Linked DNA regions of Homo sapiens: region 1 is linked to region 2. Evidence: promoter capture Hi-C in human tissues and cell types (Jung and others, 2019). All regions are on one chromosome and are shown on one strand. Each heading gives the region's core, a stretch centred on a gene start or on the middle of the fragment in contact. The rest is flanking DNA. Distances are from core to core; before and after follow the strand shown. Region 1 has its middle 17 kb from the start of CXCL11. Region 2 holds the start of PARM1 (prostate androgen-regulated mucin-like protein 1).

What was found. The method cuts DNA at HindIII sites, captures the fragments that hold promoters and counts their contacts. A contact is called where the count stands out against the background at its distance.
Region 1: a fragment that was not itself captured here is called in contact with the fragment with the promoter of PARM1 in region 2 in 1 of the 25 tissues and cell types used here (dorsolateral prefrontal cortex).

What each region holds. Positions count from the first base shown.
Region 1 is chr4:76,051,301-76,055,689 of GRCh38, reverse strand. It overlaps a transcript of ART3 not described here. Among named protein-coding and RNA genes, the nearest start is that of CXCL11, 17 kb to the right of the region's middle. The HindIII fragment of the contact is 3,657 bases long and covers 395-4,051 here.
Region 2 is chr4:74,931,260-74,935,628 of GRCh38, reverse strand. PARM1 (prostate androgen-regulated mucin-like protein 1) reads right to left here and starts at 2,513. Exons shown (of 4, transcript NM_015393.4): 1 at 2,259-2,513. The coding sequence starts at 2,301. RefSeq lists an enhancer at 1,580-1,629 and silencers at 1,740-1,789, 2,370-2,679. The HindIII fragment of the contact is 8,311 bases long and covers 1-4,010 here.

The DNA of each region.
Region 1 (4,389 bases), core at 974-3,473, 1.1 Mb before region 2:
ACCCTCAGATTTTATTTATCCCAAATTGTTCCACATTTAGTCTTCTGCTCTAATCTTCTTTTGCATTTTCTATTTTCCAGGGAGGCTTGGGTCTGGGAATTACATTGTCAGACCTTTGAGATGCCTTTCACTCCCGTTTCATCTCAGAAAGGAATTCTTGTGTTTTTCATTGCTGCTGTCCTCTGACCCCGCTTCTTAACTAAATGTGTTAAGTGATTTGGGGGAGTTATATAAACTCTTAAAGGCCCACTTTCTTCTTCTCTAAATTGCCACTAATGTCCTTTTTACAGTGCCCCTTCTTACAGAATTATTGTGAGGACTAGTGAGACACTATGTACATTACGTGCCACATGGGAGACATTAAACAAATGATGGCAATTATTCTGGACTCCATCACTCATCCAGTTACCACCACATACCCAGCCACCAACTGCACAAATACAAGGTGAGAGGTAGACACTCAGAGCTGAAGAGTGAGCCACATTTCTCTGACTACACCTTTTACTGCTCATACTGAAAGTAAGAACAGGGAAGTAAGAAACACAGAAAGTAAGCTAGGTTGTAGATTCAAAGGTGAAACCAGGATGTTAGGAAAGCCTTAGAAAAATGACAAGAGGCCAGGCATTGTGGCTCACGCCTGTAATCTCAGCATTTTGGGAGGCCAAAGCAGGAGACTTGCCTGAGGCCAGGAGTTTGAGTCCAGCCTGAGCAACATAACAAGACTGTCTCTAAAAAAAGAAAGAAAACAAGAAAATTGACAGAAATGTTTTATTGGCTTTTCATTACAAGGAAAATAGCATTCAGCACAATGTATAAAATTTTAGAAAACATAGCCTAAATATTTATTTATTTATTTTGAGACAGGGTTTCACTCTGTAGCCTAGCCTGGAGTGCAGTGGATGATCATAGCTCATTGCAACCTTGATCTCCTGGGCTCAAGTGATCCTCCAGCCTCAGCCTCCCAAATAGGTGGGATTACAGGTGCACACCAGCACAACCAGCTAATTTTTCAAATTTTTAGTAGAGATGGGGGTCTCACTATGTTGCTTAGGCTGGTCTCAAACTTCCAAGCTCAAGTGATCCTCCTGTTTCAGCTTCCCAAAGTGTTGGGATTGCAGGCATGAGCAACTAAGCCCAGCCTAAATATTTTAAAAGTATTATTTTTGTTTTGAATCCAAAAGAAAGTAATTTAAGTATCAAGATTATATAAGAAATAAAATAGCTAGAACAAAAAACATCTTTCCTGTCCTATTTTTTTTATATTCGCACTCTCAACTATATCTATTTAAAACATTAAGTTTAATAACACTTAGTTCAAACTGGCAAATGATGTGTCCTGAAATACTCCTTATAAATGGTCATTTTACTATATTCTATTTTTTAAAAATACAAATAAATCCAATGAAGCTTCATACCTTGCAGACATAGCTCTTCTAACATTCACATGCAGGGGTCATCTCTCCAAGCAAGCTCCTTTGTGCATTTATTCTCTTTCCAACTAGCCCTGAAATAATATCGACCAGATCTATTTTCTCCTCTCCTCCAGCTTCTCTGAGTAGCAGAAGCAATAAACTAATAATGGTAAGTGAAGCTACTATTTCTCCCTTCTTACTGAATCAAGCTTCCTTCAGTTAGTCGCTTGTAAAGTTGCTCATTGCTTAATCTCTCACGTTTCTATCCCCTAACAATAGGCATGTTGTTTCCCAACTTGAAAAATTAACATGAACGTCTACATTGACCTGGCAGTTGTCGAGTGCAGTCATTTTCCAGGCAGCCAACTAAAGGCCATGCACAGAGCTGCTTTGTTGTGAGAAACATGATTTCTCTGAAGTTTATGGTGATGCTGAAGTTGTTTTGTACAACCCACTGTTCCTGGCTCACATACATACAAATGACAGCAAACATTCTGACAGAGGTACAGAGGACATGGAAAAGAGGGTTAGTCTATTCAATGAGCTGGCAGAACTTGATCATTTCTACTTCTGTGTTCTAAATTTTAACATATGCGACTTTGAATTTTACCTACAATTTTAAAGGAAAGTAATTGGTTTTAAACCCATATTCTTTTTTTCTTCTGAATTCCTGTGGAAATAAATTAAGTAGCTTTTCTTTGACGACTGTTAATTATACCCTAATAAAATTAACTTGGCAGTAGACTTGGCAAAAAGTAATATTCCAAGGCAATTAAATTTGGTTATAGATAAAACAAACAATATTTATATACTGTGCTTTGCCAGGTTGAAAAAAGAGACAAATAATAGCTAGTTTTTTTTTAGTAACTCTTCTACCAAAAAGGTAGAGAAACACTGTTTTCTTTTCAGAAGAGGAATGGTAGATCAAACTCTTAATTAATTTATAAGAAAATGAGAGAGCTGTAGTTAATAAATCAGGTATAGCTTAAATGTTCCAGGAAGACTCTTCCTGTGCAATAAATTTAATTAAGCCAATGAGAAACAATCCAATTCCAGTGACAAGATAGAGATAACCTGTACGTGATCAGCATGAACAGGCATAGTTAAAAAACAAAGTAAATTGAACTACCAGTAACTATTTTTCAAATCCTTAATCACTGGAAACTAAAGCTTATTTCTTCTTTTTGTGCTCAACTTTCAGGGAACAAATAACTGCCCTTCCTTTAAAGTCAGAAATTTGGTACACACCAGCTGGGTGCAGGGGCTCATGCTTATAATCCCAGCATTTTGGGAGGCTGAGGCAGGTGGATGGCTTAAGACCAGGAGTTTGAGACCAGCCTTGCCAACATGGTGAAACCCCGTCTCTACTAAAAATACAAAAATTAGCCTGGTGCGGTGGCACAGGCCTGTAATCCTAGCAACTTGGGAGGCTGAGGCACGAGAATTGCTTGAATCTGTTTGCTTGAATCTGGGAGGCAGGGGTTGCAGCAAGCCGAGATCGTGCCCGTGCACTCCAGCCTGGATGACAGAGCAAGACTCTGTCTTAAAAAAAAAAAAAAGAAGGAAAAAAGAAATTGGGTACACGCATGTTCTCACTTACAAGTGGGAGCTAAATAATGTGTACACATAGACATAGAGTATGGAATGATAGACAGTGGAGACTTGGAAGGGTTGGGGGCGGTGGATGATGAGAAACTACTTAATGGGTACCATGTACATTATTCTGGTGATGGATACACTAAAAGCCCTAATTTCACCACTATGCAATATATCCATGTAACAAAATTATATTTGTATCCCCCAAATTTATACTGACAAGGAAAGGAAAGGTAGATGGCTACCAGTGGCTCTCTCAAGCATGAGAAGTTCCGTATGGTGATACGGTAGTCACTGAAAACTGGCCCTTATTCTGTGCATGCACTTGCGACTGCAATGTTTGGGGTAGCACATATCAAGGATGAAGTCATCCTTATAAAATGTGAGCATTGATATATCTCATTCTCAAATACCAGACTACATTAGCAGAATACAACCTTTGGAAATCTCTTCTTATGTCAAAGTCCCAGAAAGAGATAAAGCATATTGACCAGGCAGGTCTCAAAATCCTGACTTCAGGTGATCTGCCCACCTCAGCCTCCCAAAGTGCTGGGATTACAGGCGTGAGCATGGCGAAACCCCGTCTCTAATAAAAATACAAAAAAAATTAGCTGGGCATGGTGGCAGGCGACCGTAATCCAGGCTACTCGGCAGGCTGAGGCTGGAGAAAGGCTTGAACTCAGGGGCGGAGGTTGCAGTGAGCTGAGATTGCGCCATTGCACTCCACTCCAGCCTGGGCAGCAAGAGCGAAACTCTGTCTCAAAAAAAAAAAAAAAAAAAAAAGAGAGAGAGAGAGATACAACATAAACTCAGAAACATCCTTATTTAAAATTCATTGTCAGCCAGGTACAGTGGCTTATGCCAGTAATCCCAGCACTTTGGGAGGTTGAGGTGGGAAGACCACTTGGGCACAGGAATTCGAGACCAGCCTGGGCAACATGGCGAAACCCCAACTCTACCAAAAATACAAAAACATTAGCTGGCTGTGGACGTGTGTGCCCATAGTCCCAGCTACTCAGGAGGCTGAGGTGGGAAGATGGTTTGTGCCCGGGAGGCAGATACTGCGGTCAGCCGAGATCACGCCATTGCACTCCAGCCTGGGCGATAGAGCAGGTCTAAAACAAACAAACAAAAAATTCATCATCACTTTGGAACTCTTTTCAATGGCATTAAAACATGCATTATTCCTCAACGTCTTAATGATTTTAATGTTATTTATACAATTTACTCCAAGTTTTGATGAAAAAAATAGAGCCTTACCCAGTGCCTAATGGCTACCTTGAATATAGCCTGCAGAATCTGTCTCATTTCTGGGACGGGTATTTTAATAATATTATAAGAAACTCACAGTAGTATTCTACTAAGAACTCTTAAAAAAAAA
Region 2 (4,369 bases), core at 1,264-3,763:
CCTATGGCTAGAGGAGGAAAATGAGAAGGAAACAGAAAAGACACAAGGCCTGGTGAAACTAACTAGAGATTTGCTAGGGGAGTTCTGGGATAAGCCCCCAAAACACATGTGTGTGCACTTTCACTTCAAGAGCCCTCATCCCTTTCTTCTTTACCAACACGTCTATTTTTTTCTTTAAAAATGATATTTTACATTCTGAAAACACCTTAAAATTAAGGTGCAAAGAATCTCATGAGGTATTTATGCCAATTTTTATATTATTTTTTCGGACGATTTATTGCAAAGTAGCTCTAACAACAAACTGACGTCTTAAAGAGATTCCTTCAAAGGCACAAACTTCAGGGGGAATGCAGTGTCCATTAGCTTCATCATTTTCAGCTTGGGATATGCATATCGAAGCATAACTAGGGAAATGAGGCAGTATGTCTTCCTGAGTCTCGAGCCTCACAGCTGGAAGGCTGTGACCATCTGGGCTCTGATCCTAATTAGTGCGTGGGGGTAGGAGTGGTGCTCAGCCGGTCCCTGGCCCACCAGTCTCCTCGCTCTAGCGGTGGGTCAAGGGTGATATTCCTCCCGGAATAGCGGAGCTAAACTGTAACGCTGAATAAAAGAAAAAAGAAAAAAAAAAAAAAGAAAAAAGAGCTTCTTGGGGTGGGGGTGGGGAAGCTACAATACACTGTTTGTTAGGGTTAATCCCGGTTTTGACAACTGCCAGAGCTGTTTAAAAAAGGAAATGATTAAATAAACAAGACAAGCCACTAAATCAAATTTGCAAACGAACCTCTCTACTGACTCACTCAAGGGTTTCTGAACCTCAAGAAAAGATTTTTGAGTGAGGAGAAGTAAAGGTACCTTCCGTGTCATTACGTAAGCATCTCCTGCTTTGAGGATTACAGGAATTACCACCCGCAGCCAGCCGGGAGCTCCGCTGCCTATTGCACCTGCCGGACCTAGGCTCTCTCATCTCAGCCCGAGGCTGGGCAGCCAAAGCCGCCTGCGAGTATTCGGGAACTGTCCGCGGACGCGTCTCCAAACCGTGCCGAGATACCAGCGAGAAAGAGGTTTTCTCAGACGGACGTTCACTAAGTAGAGAAAATACGCTATAGTTTCAAGTTGGGAAACTTTTCCTTATAACTGCATTACCCACTGTGAGCTGCCTGAAAACCGCTAGCTTCTTTTCAAGGGATTGCGACGACTCGTGTCCACAACTGTAGGAACCCGACGAACTCAGAGGGAGGATATACAGACTAAAGCACGAGTAGAATCGGTTTGCGCTATGTGACTTTGGGTCACATTTAAACTGAAAATGCCAGTGGCCGCGCAGTCGGGCTACTTTTCCCAGCAGCACCATATCCACAGCCAGTTGTCCCTTTTCGGGAGACGTTTTCTGGAAAAAATAGGTACCTGAACTCTAGATTCAAAGCGTCTTTCTGAATCTCTCCCCGGTCCCCGCCAAGCCGAGCTCAGTCATCTGGCTCCCCTCTTCCCCATCCCCGCTGCCAGAGGTCGTCGCCGTCTGTGGTCCCGAAACCCGAGAGTGGCTCCTACGAAGCCTTTCAGAGGTGGTGCAGGGGGAGGGGAGAGGATGCTAGTTTAGCCAAGTTAATAGTTTCTTCTATGGGATACGTTTTTGGGGAGTTCTGGGGCAGAAGGTAGCCTTGCTACCCCCAGTGACGATTGCGAGCCTGACCAAGGCCGGGCCGCTGCTGTTAGTGCCACATCATCCTAAGCATAACTAGGAAGGGACGCCGGAGATCAGAGACCGCCAAGACTCGAGAAAGCAAACCAGCCCCGCCAGGCGCGCAGCCGCTGCTGAAGCCTTCCCAGATGCGAACCTCCCACCCCCACTTCCCCGGCTTTTTCATCCCTTCCAGGGCCCAACGGCAACAAGAAGTCTGGTCCCGTACTTTGGCAGAGTGCGCTCCGAAACCCTGGTGAAGAAAGAGAAGCCTTGAGGCGCAGTCCGTGTTGCCCACTCTGGGTTCGAACACGCAGCTAAGACAGCCACCTGTTCTACAAAGCTGGAGTTTGTGCGGGCGCGGGCTGCGGCAGGAAGGACCCCATCGTCCCCTCCCTCAGTACGGTTCGGGACCGCCAAAGGTGCACGTCACCCCAAATCTAAGTGCGCACACACCTGCGCACTCACCCGGAGGCGCGCGGCGACTCACTGCCGGATCTCCTAGCTTCAGCCCCGACCACGCGCTAGCTACTGGGGCCCACCCCGCGACCTGCCCTTCCGGGAGGATGGCGCCAATTACCTGCAGTTAAGATGCAAAGAGCGAAGAGAGTCTTGTAGACCATGGTAGCCTGGTATTTGGTGCCCAGCCCGGGGCGGGCGGCAAGGAGTTTGCGGACTGACAGAGCGCACTGGGCGCTGGTAGCGACTCCTCTGCCGGGTGGGCTGCGGTGGGAGCCGGGAGGCGCGAACAGCTCCAGTGGAGGGCGCGAGGCAAACGAGGCGAACGCAGCGCAGCTCCGTCAGCTGCGTGCCCTCCGGTGCTCCGCGCTCTTCTGCTCCATCCCAGCCGCCCGAGCCCGGGGCCGCCTCCGCCTCCGCCGCCGCCGCCGCGCCTGCCGCTGCCAAACCCCTCCCACCCGGGCCCCGCGGCGATGACTGGGCCACCCCCTGGCCTTCCTTCTCTCAGCCCTCAGGTCCCGAGAGCCCCGGCCCAGAGCGGCCTCTGCTGGACAGTCAAGACACGAGACCCTGGGTTCAGCAAATGTTTGCAGCGCCTTGCACTGTGCTGGGAACTAGGGATGCAAAGAAATGTGAGCACATCTCTGCCCTTAGGAATCTAGCTCAGCTTTTCCTACATGAGCTTACAGCCTTTAAAAAGGTGACCTTATGCCATTTTAGGAGTTCCCTCGGAGAACCGGCACATGTTCCAAGAATGAGGACCTTCTTCATTTGTCAAAACACTTCTGCGTGTACATCATTAAACCCTCATCCACATTAAACCCGGCTGAGCTTCCTGGGGCCCGAACCAGGATGTCTGCCGCTGCATTCAGCTTCTTACTAGAAGAAAATACTGTCGGGGGGATAACTAAGCCAGACACCCTACTAGGCGTTGTTTCATGAATCCTTCTAAGAATTATTATTATTCCATTTTACAGGTGAGAAAATGAAGGCACAGAGAAGACAATGTTCTCAAGGTCGCATAACTGGTAAGAATAGTTTGTGCACTAGGCCCATAATAAAGGCTGACGTTTCCTGAGTGATTGCTATGTGCTAGGCACTGGACAACGTGCTGTTCAGGAATCAACCAAGTCATTTAGTTCTCACAACAATCCTTGGAGATTATATCCTCGTTTTCAGGGGAGAAAGTAGAAGCACAGAGAAGTTTAACTTGCCCGAGTTCACACAACTCGCAAGTAATGATAAGATGCCTGCCCAGGCACCCCGCTCAGCCTCTGTACTCTACTCCCTCTCAAGAGCCCAAAGCTTCTCCAAAGCCTACAGATTAGAACTGACCTTTCATTCAGTTCCCTCCCTGCTCTTGCTACACTTTAGGCTTGCTTAATTCTCACACTTCGATCAAAGCAGATGCCAGGTTCTCTCCCAATTCTGTTATTAATGAACCTATTGGTCCCCTAGTCACTAGAGCTGGGGCACTGCAGGAGTTAACAAGCCTTTGTAAAGAAATGATTTGCGTGGAAGGCAGCTTTCTTTTTTCTGTAATATCTTCTTCATATGCCATGGGCTCTGTTCTCACTTCTTTCTCACATACCAGAAGCTGACTCTAGGAGTCCTGAGCACCTTATCTATGGTCAATTCCTCTGCCTGACTCTATCACACTACCACTTGTAGATTTTGCTCACACTTCCACAACCAGATTAAATTTGGATCATATTTTTTTCTCTTTGTTTTGGTAAATCTAGTAATTTCTGTTGGAATGAGAAACAAAAAATACTCAGACCAAGTGCCCATCCCCTCTCCATCCTCCCTGGCCAGATAAACTGCAAATTCAATTTGTTCAGCATGTTCTCTGAATGCTTTTGACTTCAAGGCCCTTCCGGTTTCTAGGGTAATCTATGTGATTAGGAACAATTTCTGCATCTGGGTTTTGGTTGTCATGGATGCAGGGACCACACACAGATGGAGTTATGCAGCGACATTCTATCAGGCATTAGCCCCTTTAAATAGGGCAGGTTAAGTAAGTGACTCTATGGCAGAAATATAGGTTTTTGAAGACCACTTCACAGAAAAAATTTATTCAATTGAAATTCAGCAAAACTTGAAGGAGTCTTTCTGGAGTGCGAAGCATGTGCAACTCTAACCTTGATATCTAAGATAATGGTTTGGTACTCAAAGAATCATGACCCCTACACACTAATCAGTGAAAATTTCCAAAACTTTTCTATTGTACGC